Regions from separate parts of the Homo sapiens genome. Here region 2 is linked to region 1. Evidence: promoter capture Hi-C in 16 types of primary human blood cells and fetal thymus (Javierre and others, 2016). All regions are on one chromosome and are shown on one strand. Each heading gives the region's core, a stretch centred on a gene start or on the middle of the fragment in contact. The rest is flanking DNA. Distances are from core to core; before and after follow the strand shown. Region 1 holds the start of P2RY8 (P2Y receptor family member 8). Region 2 holds the start of LINC03112 (long intergenic non-protein coding RNA 3112).

The links. The method cuts DNA at HindIII sites, captures the fragments that hold promoters and counts their contacts. A CHiCAGO score of 5 or more calls a contact.
Region 2: a fragment that was not itself captured here is called in contact with the fragment with the promoter of P2RY8 in region 1 in 4 of 17 cell types (naive CD8 T cells, total B cells, erythroblasts and 1 more); the score reaches 9.3 in naive CD8 T cells.

Annotation. Positions count from the first base shown.
Region 1 is chrX:1,534,251-1,539,493 of GRCh38, reverse strand. It overlaps P2RY8 (P2Y receptor family member 8), which reads left to right and starts at 2,309. Exons shown (of 2, transcript NM_178129.5): 1 at 2,309-2,573. The HindIII fragment of the contact is 32,946 bases long and covers 1-5,243 here.
Region 2 is chrX:2,609,085-2,614,751 of GRCh38, reverse strand. LINC03112 (long intergenic non-protein coding RNA 3112) reads left to right here and starts at 5,585. Exons shown (of 2, transcript XR_001755779.3): 1 at 5,585-5,646. MIR6089 (microRNA 6089) reads right to left here and starts at 5,561; the gene lies at 5,498-5,561. LINC00102 (long intergenic non-protein coding RNA 102) reads left to right here. Exons shown (of 2, transcript NR_037842.1): 1 at 1-35; 2 at 1,056-1,761. It also overlaps the pseudogene CD99P1. The HindIII fragment of the contact is 6,762 bases long and covers 489-5,667 here.

The DNA.
Region 1 (5,243 bases), core at 1,060-3,559:
TCCTCCTGACTCAGTCTCCCAAATAGCTGGGATTACAGGTGTCTTTCACCACGCCAAGATTATTTTTTGTATTTTTAGTAGAGAGGGGGTTTCTCCATGTTGACCAGTCTGGTCTCGAACTCCTGACCTCAGGTGATCCACCTGCCTCGGCCTCCCAGACTGCTGGGATTACAGGCGTGAGCCTCTGCACCCGCCGGTCACGTACCCTATTTTCTTTATCCGATGCATGGTGGATAAGCACCTGGGTTGACTCTGTGTCTTTGCTATGGTGAATAGTGCTGTGATGAACTGTGAGTGTGGATGTCCTTTTACAGAACGATTTCCTTAATAAGGTGTTTTCAAACAGAAACACACATAATATAAAGCTACTTATTGATCTGTTGAAGAAAACACTGTGACCAGGGGCCTGAAGGATTCTTTTGATTTTTTTTTTTTTTTTTTTTGAGACAGGGTCTCTCTCTGTTGCCCAGGCTGGAGTGCAGTGGCATGATCTCGGCTCTCTGCAACCTCTGCCTCTCTGGTTCAAGTCATTCTCTTGCCTCAGCCTCCCCAGTAGCTGGAACTACAGGCCCCCACCATCACACCCAGCTAATTTTTGTATTTTTAGTAGAGACAGGGTTTCGCCATGTTGGCCAGGCTAGTCTTGAACTGCTGATCTCAAGTGATCCACCCGCCTTGGCCTCCCAAAGTGCTGGGATTATAGGCGTGAGCCACCAGGCCTGGCCTTTTTTTTTTTTTTTTTTTGAGACAGTCTCACTCTGTCACCCAGGCTGGGGTACAATGGCCCAATCTGGGCTCACTGCCACCTCCACCTCCTAGGTTCACATGCTTCTCCTGCCTCAGCCTCCCCAGTAGCTGGGATTACAGGCGTCCACCACCACGCCTAGCTAATTTTTGTATTTTTAAGGGACAGGTTTCGCTATGTTGGCCAGGCTGGTCTCGAACTCCTGACCTCAAGTGATCCGGCCCACCTTGGCACCTCAAAGTGCTGGGAATACAGGTGTGAGCCACCAGGCCTCGACTTTTTTTTTTTTTTTGAGACAGTCTCACTCTGTTACCCAGGCTGGAGTGCAATGGCCTGATCTTGGCTCACTGCAACCTCCAGCTCCCGGGTTCAAGTGATTCTCCTGCCTCAGCCTCCCCAGTAGCTAGGATTACAGGCATCCACCACCATGCCCAGCTAATTTTTGTATTTTTAGTAGGGACGGGATTTCGCTATGTTGGCCAGGCTGGTCTCGAACTCCTGACCTCAAGTGATCCACCCGCCTTGGCCTCCCAAAGTGCTGGGATTATAGGCGTGAGCCAGCAGGCCTGGTCTTTTTGTTTGTTTGTTTGTTTTTTGGGACAGTCTCACTGTCACCCAGACTGGAGTGCAATGGCCTGATCTTGGCTCACTGCAACCTCCACCTCCCAGGTTCAAGTGATTCTCCTGCCTCAGCCTCCCCAGTAGCTGGGACTACAGGTGTCCACCACCACACCCAGCTAATTTTTGTGTTTTTAGTAGGGACGGGATTTCGCCATGTTGGCCAGGCTGGTCTCAAACTCCTGACCTGAAGTGATCCACCCGCCTTGGCCTCCCAAAGTGCTGGGACTACAGGCGTGAGCCACCACACCCAGCCTGGCTTGAGGGATTGATTCTACCATGTCTTTTCCCTGAGCAGTGGTTCAATATTCATTCATTCTTTCTCAGTGACAGATCCTTCCCTCTCAACCTCCTCCCACGAGTGACAAGAACCAACCGTTGCTCCTCACAAGCAAGGATACCAGAGCTCGGAAACCTGGTTCTCATTCCTGAAACTGGCCGATCCCCCATGGGATGTTGAGGATATGAGCCTGCAGCGCCCGTGACCAACTGTGAGAGCCGGAATGATCAGTGCCCAAGGTCTGTTCGCTTGTCACAGTCTGGCTGTGTACCAAGAGATGTCGCAATGAGCACAGCTTTAGAGTCTAAAAGGAAACGTGTTCTGTTCTTTCTTTGTTTTGTTTTGTTATTTCAGAAGAAACAGGAATCGGTTCTGGAGCATGCCACGGCTCTTCACTGCTGGTTACAAAATTTAGAAAAATCATTCTCCCTCTTTTCCTCACTCTCAGGGTTCTCTTAAGAGTAGGGCCCCCTGCGAGCCAGTGATAGGGAGGTGGGCGGTTAACGGTGCTGCCCAGAGACACAGCGACGTTACTCCAGTGGGCTCAGCCCTGCACATGAGTGTTCAGACAGTTACAGAGGAAATGTCACAACACACTTCCTTTCCACCTAAGCCTGAGTCGCAACCGTGGTGGTGCGCTGGGAGGTGGAGTTTGCAGAATTTGCATTCGGAGACAGTCGTGCCAGCCGGTGGGCCACCCAGCGAAGCGGCCGCCTTTGCAAGGTTGCTGGACAGATGGAACTGGAAGGGCAGCCGTCTGCCGCCCACGAACACCTTCTCAAGCACTTTGAGTGACCACGGCTTGCAAGCTGGTGGCTGGCCCCCCGAGTCCCGGGCTCTGAGGCACGGCCGTCGACTTAAGCGTTGCATCCTGTTACCTGGAGACCCTCTGAGCTCTCACCTGCTACTTCTGCCGCTGCTTCTGCACAGGTGAGCCGCCGAGCTGGACTTTTATGCTTGTCCTGCACTGTCAAGGGAGAAGACAGGGTCGCTGGGAGGGTCCGTGTACGGTGAGAACATGGGGGAAGACGGTGCAAACTCCATGAGGCGTGTTCTCCTCACGCTAGAGCAGACCAGGAGTGCAAATTTCCTGGGAGGAAGACTTTGCACAGCCGCTTCGTCACTTAGGGGAGAAATGCTCAAATTTTCCAGGGCTGCAAGCCACCCTTCCTTTAATAACTCATTCCATGAACTTTCAGAGGCCGAGGTGGGCGGATCACGAGGTCAGGAGTTCGAGACCATCCTGGCTAACACGGTGAAACCCCGTCTCTACTAAAAATACAAAAATTAGCCAGGCGTGGTGGCAGGTGCCTGTAATCCCAGCACTTTGGGGGACCGAGGTGGGTGGATCATCTGAGGTCAGGAGTTCGAGACCATCCTGGCTAACACGGTGAAACCCCGTCTCTACTAAAAATACAAAAATTAGCTGGGCTTGGTGGTGGGCGCCTGCGGTCCCAGCTACTCGGGAGGCTGAGGCAGGAGAATGGCATGATCCCTGGAGGTGGAGCTTGCAGTGAGCAGAGATCACGCCACTGCACTCCAGCCTGGGCGACAGAGCGAGACTCTGTTTAGAAAAAAAAAAACAAAAAAAAACTCATTCCATGAAATGCGCCTCTCTTGAGGTTAACCTTAGAGAGGGTAAGCAGCTGCGGCTGCTGCACGTAACCCATTTACGCCTGAGATTGCAGTTTTTTCAATGTTTGCAATGAGACCTTGGCGATGACCTTGAGCCGTGGGATATAAATAACTCCCAAATGCTTAGCGTTCCAATAATGGAAGAGTAAGCATAAATTAAACGGGTTTTAAAGCCCTATGGGTGCCTGGATGAGCACGGTGGCCCCTCGTCACCCCCTCGGTGCCAGGGAGACCCCAGACCCGGGTCTCACGGCCACCTCAGACCTCATTTGTACAGGTCCGCTTAGAAACCCCAATTCCTTGGGTCTTGTCAGATCTGTCCCCTAAAAAGCTGAGAAAAGGCAGAGGGAGCTGCTCTGGGAATTTCAGGCCACACACAACAAGGCCTGCTGTGGCGCTTTAGGTCCCATTTCTATAAAGGGGAACCATGGTCACGTGGCTCTGTTCCCAAAAAGAAAAGGGTTTGTGTGTGTGTGTGTGTGTGTGTCTGTGTGTGTGTCTGTGTGTGTGTGTGTGTGTGTGGTTGTTTCTTCCCATGTTGTTATCTTTACGTAACGTGGATGAGAAGTCTGAAGCGCGAGAGCCCTAAGTGAAAACCGCTGAGGAGCTGAAGCCCGTGGGGAAGCAGGTGCACCTGACTGCGCCGTTCAATCTCTCCTTCCCGTTCCGTTCCTCCTTGCATAGCCCACTTGACTTTGGCAAGCAGCGCCAGATAGTAGCATATTTTGTGTTTACGGCGGTGACAGACGCCTGTAATCCCAGCACTTTGGGAGGCCGAGGTGGGTGGATCACTTGAGGTCAGGGGTTTGAGACCAGCCTGGCCAACATAGTGAAACCCCGTCTCTACTAAAAATACCAAAATTAGCCGAGTGTGGCGGCGGGCACCTGTCATCCCAGTTACTCGGCACGCTAAGGCAGCAGAATCACTTGAACCCAGGAGGCGGAGGTTGCGGTGAGCCAAGATCGCGCCACTGCACTCCAGCCTGGGTGACAGAGTGAGACTCTGTCTCAAAAAAAAAAAAAAAAAAAAAGGAATTATCCCACATTGGAAAAGCAGTACTTTCATTTAGGCACTGCCAGACAGGTGCCAGCGTCCTACGTGCACCAGGATGCTGCCCCTTTTCCCAAATATTGGCCTCCCCCACCCCACAAGAGGACAATTAGGTCAGAGGCTGAGAGAGGCGTGCATGGGACGTACGGGACGGTGGGCAACCCTGTGTTTGTAAAAGCACATGCTTTTCAGATGCCTTCTGCCAGGTCCCCGCCTGGCTGCACCATTCAGACTGACCAACCTTGGGGTGGGTGGGAGAGGTGAGGTCCCCTTGGAGAACCACAGAGACGCTCCCTCCCTCCAACCCTACCCACACTGCAGTTCTGAGTTTGTCCCTTAAAGTTCCAGGGAAGAAGCGATGGCTTAGGATTAACAACAGCAGGGTAGCTGTTGCCAGTGGTGCATACGTACAGCCCTGCGCTTGGAGAGGCCCTTTCCCCGGGCAGATGGCCCCCTCTCGTCTGAGTCTCTCTCCTGCGCCCTCTCCTTCAGCCCTGCCTCTCCATCAGGACCTCCTCATTGGCTGTGTCTGGGCATGGTCCCCAACCTCCCTCCCCCAGCCCCTCTTCTGTCCCTAGAGGCAGTGGGGTGGGCGGGGCAGGGTCCAGGGATCCCAGTGTCCACCTGGAACCCTGCTCTTCCTCTCTCGGGTTAGGAGATTCTGCACGGCCCCTGGGAGACACACAACACCCTGCCTACACCTGTTAAGGTACGGAAAGGGCGTGGGCGTGATGGGTGCCCCCAGGATCACCCCCAAGGACCAGACTGAGCTCAGGGGACTGCAGGGAGTGTTCTGCGGTTCACAATGTCGCTCCCTAGTGATGCAGTATCTGTGTTCACTTAGGATAAAGCAACAGATACACCTATCTGTGTGTGTGTATATATATATGTATTACATATATAATTATATAAAT
Region 2 (5,667 bases), core at 2,620-5,119, 1.1 Mb before region 1:
GTCCCCAACACCTTCAGCAAGGCAGACCGTAAGAGGTAGGGCAGGTGACTGTGATCTGATCTGTGACTGACGGATTCTGATCTGTGTCTGAAAAGTGGCTCTACCCACCCAGCTGGGCTCCACAAACTAATGTGACATTCATGCTAGTTTCAAAGCCAGCCTTCTAGTTCTTTTTTTTTTTTTTTTTCATATGGAGTTTTGTCCTTTTGCCTGGCTGGAGTGCAGTGGTGTGATCTCGGCTCACTGCAACCTCTGCCTCCCGGGTTCAAGCCATTCTCCTGCCTCAGCCTCCCGAGTAGCTGGGATTACAGGCATGCACCACCATGCCAGGATAATTTTTGTATTTTTAGCAGAGGCAGGGTTTCTCCATGTTGGTCAGGCTGGTCTTGAACTCCTGACCTCAAGTGATCCAGCCGCCTTGGCCTCCTAAGGTGCTGGGATTACAGGTGTGAGCCACCTTACCTGGCCCAGCCTTCTAGTTCCAAGCTTTTCAAATCCCAATTAAGGTCGAGGCACATTTTATATTGGGAGTGATAAGGGAGGCTCAAATGAAAGAAACATGAGGGGCTACATCAAAATGAATCTTTTTTTCAAAACCATATTAAAATACACAAGCAATGAATAAAAAGCACATGATTTTTCACATACATTGTATAGAAATAAGAAATCTCATGGTATGAGAACCTATGTGTTCAGAAAAAAAGTATACTAGAAGAGAAAGACACTTATTGAAATGACTTATTTTATTTAAAGGTGAATCTCTTTGGGTTTTTGTCCTAATGTCTGGAAAAAAAGTTGTCTACCATATTTACAACTCTACATATTAAAAGTTGTCCTGAGTCTTCTAGCAAAGGCCATAGAACTAAATTACAAATAAACTGTAAAGAGAACGTATAAATCTAGGAACAGGGAAAATTTTAAAAACCCATTACCAAATAACATGACCAACTTCTTAGAAAAGGTCAGAAATGAAGAGAAAAAAAATTGAAATTTAACAAAGGGTCATCATTTCATGGATTGCAAAAAATATATACACAATCTCTTCTACATGACAGAAATAAACAGAAAAATAGTGGACATGAAAATGGATTCAGAGTAACAAAAACAAGGAAAAAACACTTTAGAAACCCATTGACAGAATCAACAAGAGGAAGAGACAAATCGAATCTCAAAGAAAAAGCTCAGGCCGGCATGGTGGCTCACACCTGTAATCCCAGCACTTTGAGAGGCTGAGATGGGCGGATCACCTGAGGTCAGGGGTTCAAGATCAGCCTGGCTAACATGGCAAAACCCCGTCTCTACTGAAAATACAAGAATTTGCCGGGCATGGTGGTGCATGTTTGTAATCCTAGCTAATTGGGAGGCTGAGGCACGAGAATTGCTTGAACCCAGGAAGTGGAGGTTGCACTGAGCCAAGATCACGCCACTGCACTCCAGCCCGGGCGACAGAGAGAGACTCTGTCTCCAAAATAAAAAAAGGAAAGAAAATAAAAGAAAAAACTCAACATTGAAAACGTGTTACCATTCCTTCAATCAACCTATGGTGATAAACAATTCAAATGAAATTAAAAAGAAGGTTTTACTTCTCTGAAGAGAAGGGACAATAGCAAAATGATTCTCAATTTAAAAGGAAAAAAAGTTACAAAAAGCAGGATATCCACACAAACATAAGACACCATAAAAAAATAAACATACCACTTGTAAAACATTCCTGTTAAAAATATTCAAAGGCAAAAATAAAGTGCAAAACCATTTTCATAATAAGTGGCTGGTAATCTTTAATATTGATAAATCACTGAAGAAGGCTCATACATCAGTAGGTAGGGAGGCTGAGGCAGGCAGAACATCTGAGGTCAGGAGTTCCAGACCAGCCTGGCCAACATGGTGAAACCCCATCTCTACTAACAATACAAAAATGAGCTGGGCCTGGTGGCGGGCACCATGAATTGAAGGATCAAAGCCAAAGCATCCAATACACAAAAGAAGAAGTCTCCGTGGCCCATTGGGATGCATTATGCTTTTTACATTTCAGAATGAGAGATGTAAAACTAAGACCGGTTTGATATAATAATTACACTATTTGACAAAGGTTTTGTAGGTGATAATTGCTACTGGAAAAGGTTCGAAGACAGGGACATTTGCAGACACCCTGGTATCAAATCAAATTGGTGCAATTCTGGGGCAAACAACCAACCAGGTTAAAAGCTATAAAAGTACTCATGAGCATTGATCTAGACAATTTGAATGCCAGAAATCTCTTCAAAGGAATGAAAAAGAGTAGACAAAGTTGACTCAAATTGGCTTTGTAATTCATAATTCTAAAATGTCAGAAGACACAATGTTTTCAACATTAGGGATTAAAGGAATTAATGTATTTTATTATATATTTAGATAGAATAGTATTTGTCAGTAAATGTCATATGATAGAAATGAGAAAACATGAGAAAATGTGAATTAATATTCTTATGAATAAGTATAAAATAAAGTTACAATAAACAATATAGAGACCACCCGTAGGGTTAGAGGCTCTTACCAGTGAAACCAGGTCGGTTGGGGTTTGGATCTGGCTTTGGTTTGGGGGCATTAGGTGGTGCTGGGTCACCTGTTTGTAAAACATGAGAGTTGCAATCATCAGTACCTAGTAGTCAAGAAAATGAAAAATCAATTTCCATAGCGACCAGAAAATGAAAAATCAATTTTGATAGCGACCAGAAAAGAAAATGAAAAATCAATTTCCACAGCGACCAGAAAATGAAAAATCAATTTCCATAGCGATGAGAAAAGAAACTGAAATATCAATTTGCACAGAGACTGTTCACTAAACAGGTAAAAACTGGCCCTTGTTTTTGTCATGGTGGGGATACCCATACACGTAGCCTCCTGCCAATTCCCTTCTGTTGTCTTCCAGGTACAGGATTTAACTTCAAGTATTTTCAAAGAAAACTAAACCAGGTGTGCAGACCACCTCCAGAATTTGGGAGGGCCTGTGAAAATGAAAATGTGCGACCCATTGTTCCAACTGTATGAAGAATCTGAAGATGGCAGCAACACAGCAATAAAGCAGCATGGCACCCTTGTGTGCACAGGTCCCTGTGTGACTGCGCAGATCTATGCCCACGAGGCCTGACCTGGCCAAGGGAGTCACATTTGCCTTACGTTGTTCCAAAGACTAACCATTTTAAAATAAAAGCCAGCATACTGGCTGGGCGTGATGGCTTGCACCTATAATCCCAGCACTTTGGGAGGCCAAGGTGAGTGCATAGCTTGAGTTTAGGAGTTAGAGACCAGCCTGCTCCACATGGCAAAACCCAGCCCCTACTAAAAAGACAAAAATTAGCCGGGCGTGGTAGTGGGTGCCTGTAATTCCAGATGCTCAGGAGGCTGAGGCACAAGAATCGCTTAAGCCCAGGAGGCGGAGGTTGCGGTGAGCCGAGATCGCGCCACCGCACTCCAGCCTGGGCCACAGAGTGAGACTCTGAACCTACACTTCAAAAAAAAAAAAAAACAAAAAAAACAAAAAAACCAGCATGCTGGTAACAAAAAAAAAATATATCAAAAATCCAACAACAAAAATAAACAACACATATACTTCCTATGTTCCCACTGTCCAAACTCAATCCATTTATCACGCAAAAGAGATGTCTTGAAAATGATAATAATTCAATGACAATCAGCAAAGTCAGCAACAGAGGAGACTTTAAAAAGTTACTCACTGTTTCCTCCATCAGGAAAGGCATCGCTAAGTCAAAGTCAGCCCTTAAAGGAGGGAAATGAGCTGTTAATACCAATGTTCTGAGAAATGAGGAAGGAATGACCCAAAAACAGGTGGAGAAAACACCACGGCCCCACGTTTCTAAATACTTCAGAAAACGTGAATTCCTATCTTCTCATCACTCTTCCCTCAGGTGAAAACAGTAAAAGATGAGCATGAGACAGAAAAAGAGGGAGTAAGAGAGAGAGAGGAGAGAGAAAGAGGGGGAGAGAGGAGATAGAGGAGAGAAAGAGGAGAGGGAGGAGAGGGGGGAGAGAGAGAGGAGATAGATGAGAGAGGCGGGAGAGAGACAAGAGAGAGAGGAGAGAGAAGGAGAGAGTGAGGAGATAGAGAGAGGAGAAAGGCGAGAGACAAGAGAGAAGGAGACAGGAGAGAGAGAGATGGGAGAGAGAAAAGAGGAGAGAGAGGAGAGGAGAGAGAGAGGAGAGAGGAGAGGAGAGAGAGACGAGAGAGAAAAGGAGAGAAAGAAGAGGGGGAGAGAGAGAAGAGGGGGAGAGAGAGAAAAGGGGAGAGAGGAGAGAGGTGAGAGAGAGGCGAGAGAAAGAGGAAAGAGGGGAGAGAGAGGGAGAGAGGAGAGTGAGGAGAGAGAAAAGCGAGAGAAAGAAGAGAGAGAAGAGAGAGAGGGAACAGGAGAGAAGAGAGAGAGAGGAGAGGAGAGAGAGAGGAAGAGGGAGAGAAGAGGAGAGAGAGAAAGGAAAGAGAAGAGAGGAGAGACAGAAAGAGAAGAGAGACTGCAGTATCCATAAGATCCATAAGAACGTCACCAGGGTTGGGGGGGAATCGGATGCCACCTCTTCCCCAGGTTCCCCTAAATTTAAGAGTTTGCGATTCTGCAAACTGTAGAAGGAAAATTAAAACTTGGAACCCCAGTTCACTCTGCCAAAATAATTAATAATAATAATAATAAAGCTGGAAGCTGAGTCAGGCAGGAAGCTGTCTTTCCTTCTGTTCCCAAGCAGACAGTGCAATAACTCTCTGTTGACCTTATCTTAGTAAAGTGCCAATTTAGTGAGCGCAAGACAAATACATAATTGACTATTCTACCTGCTGCTTTTCTTTTGCAACAGGTGAATTCGGTAAAATGAGCCTTCCTCCTTCTTTCCCCTCCAGCGTGCTTTCCCCCTTTAAATACCGAAGCTCTCAATAGTATCTTTGGAGAAAGGCATAGACCCGTCTCCCGGGCTCCTTCCTGATCTTCGCCGAATCAACTCAAAAGGATTGGGACTTGTCCCAGATACTTTTTGGTTTACGAAAGAAACGCTGGCTTTTTCCTCTGAAACGGCTCCCACCTGGCCCCAGGAAGAGCGCTGGGGAGAAAGTGGGCGCCTCCTCCGGACCTGGGTCCCCGTGGGCACAGCGCGTCCCGCCGGGCACGGAAGAGGGGCCGGGTGTCCCCGCGGGGCGCCCCGCCCCTGCACCCCACATCCCCAGGCGGATCCCCAGGCCCAGCCCGCGCCACCCCCCGCGTCCTCCCACCCGGATCCCGCCGCTCGCTCACCGGGGCGGCCACCAGACGGCGGAGCAGGCCGAGGAGCCGCAGCGCCAGCACGGCCCCGCGCGCCACGGCGCGCCCAAGGCGAGCAGAGATCGTCCGCGAGTGCAGCGCGCGGGCGAAGGCGGCGGGACGGAACCTCCCCCACGGGCCGGGTGGGGCGGAGCCCGCGGAGGACTCGAAGGGGTTGGGTGAGGGGAGCAGCCCTGCAAACTCAGCCCAGGCTGCGCCTGCCCCGCCCCGCCCCACCCCGGCCTCCACTGGCGCACGGAAGGGGAGGGAACGCCGGGCCCGGGGAGGGGACAGAGGAGGGGGCGGGCGGAGGTGGCTCGGGCCGCGCCGAGGGGACCACGGGACGCCCTCCTTCCCTTCTCAGGAAACTGTGAGTGCCCCCCGCCCACAA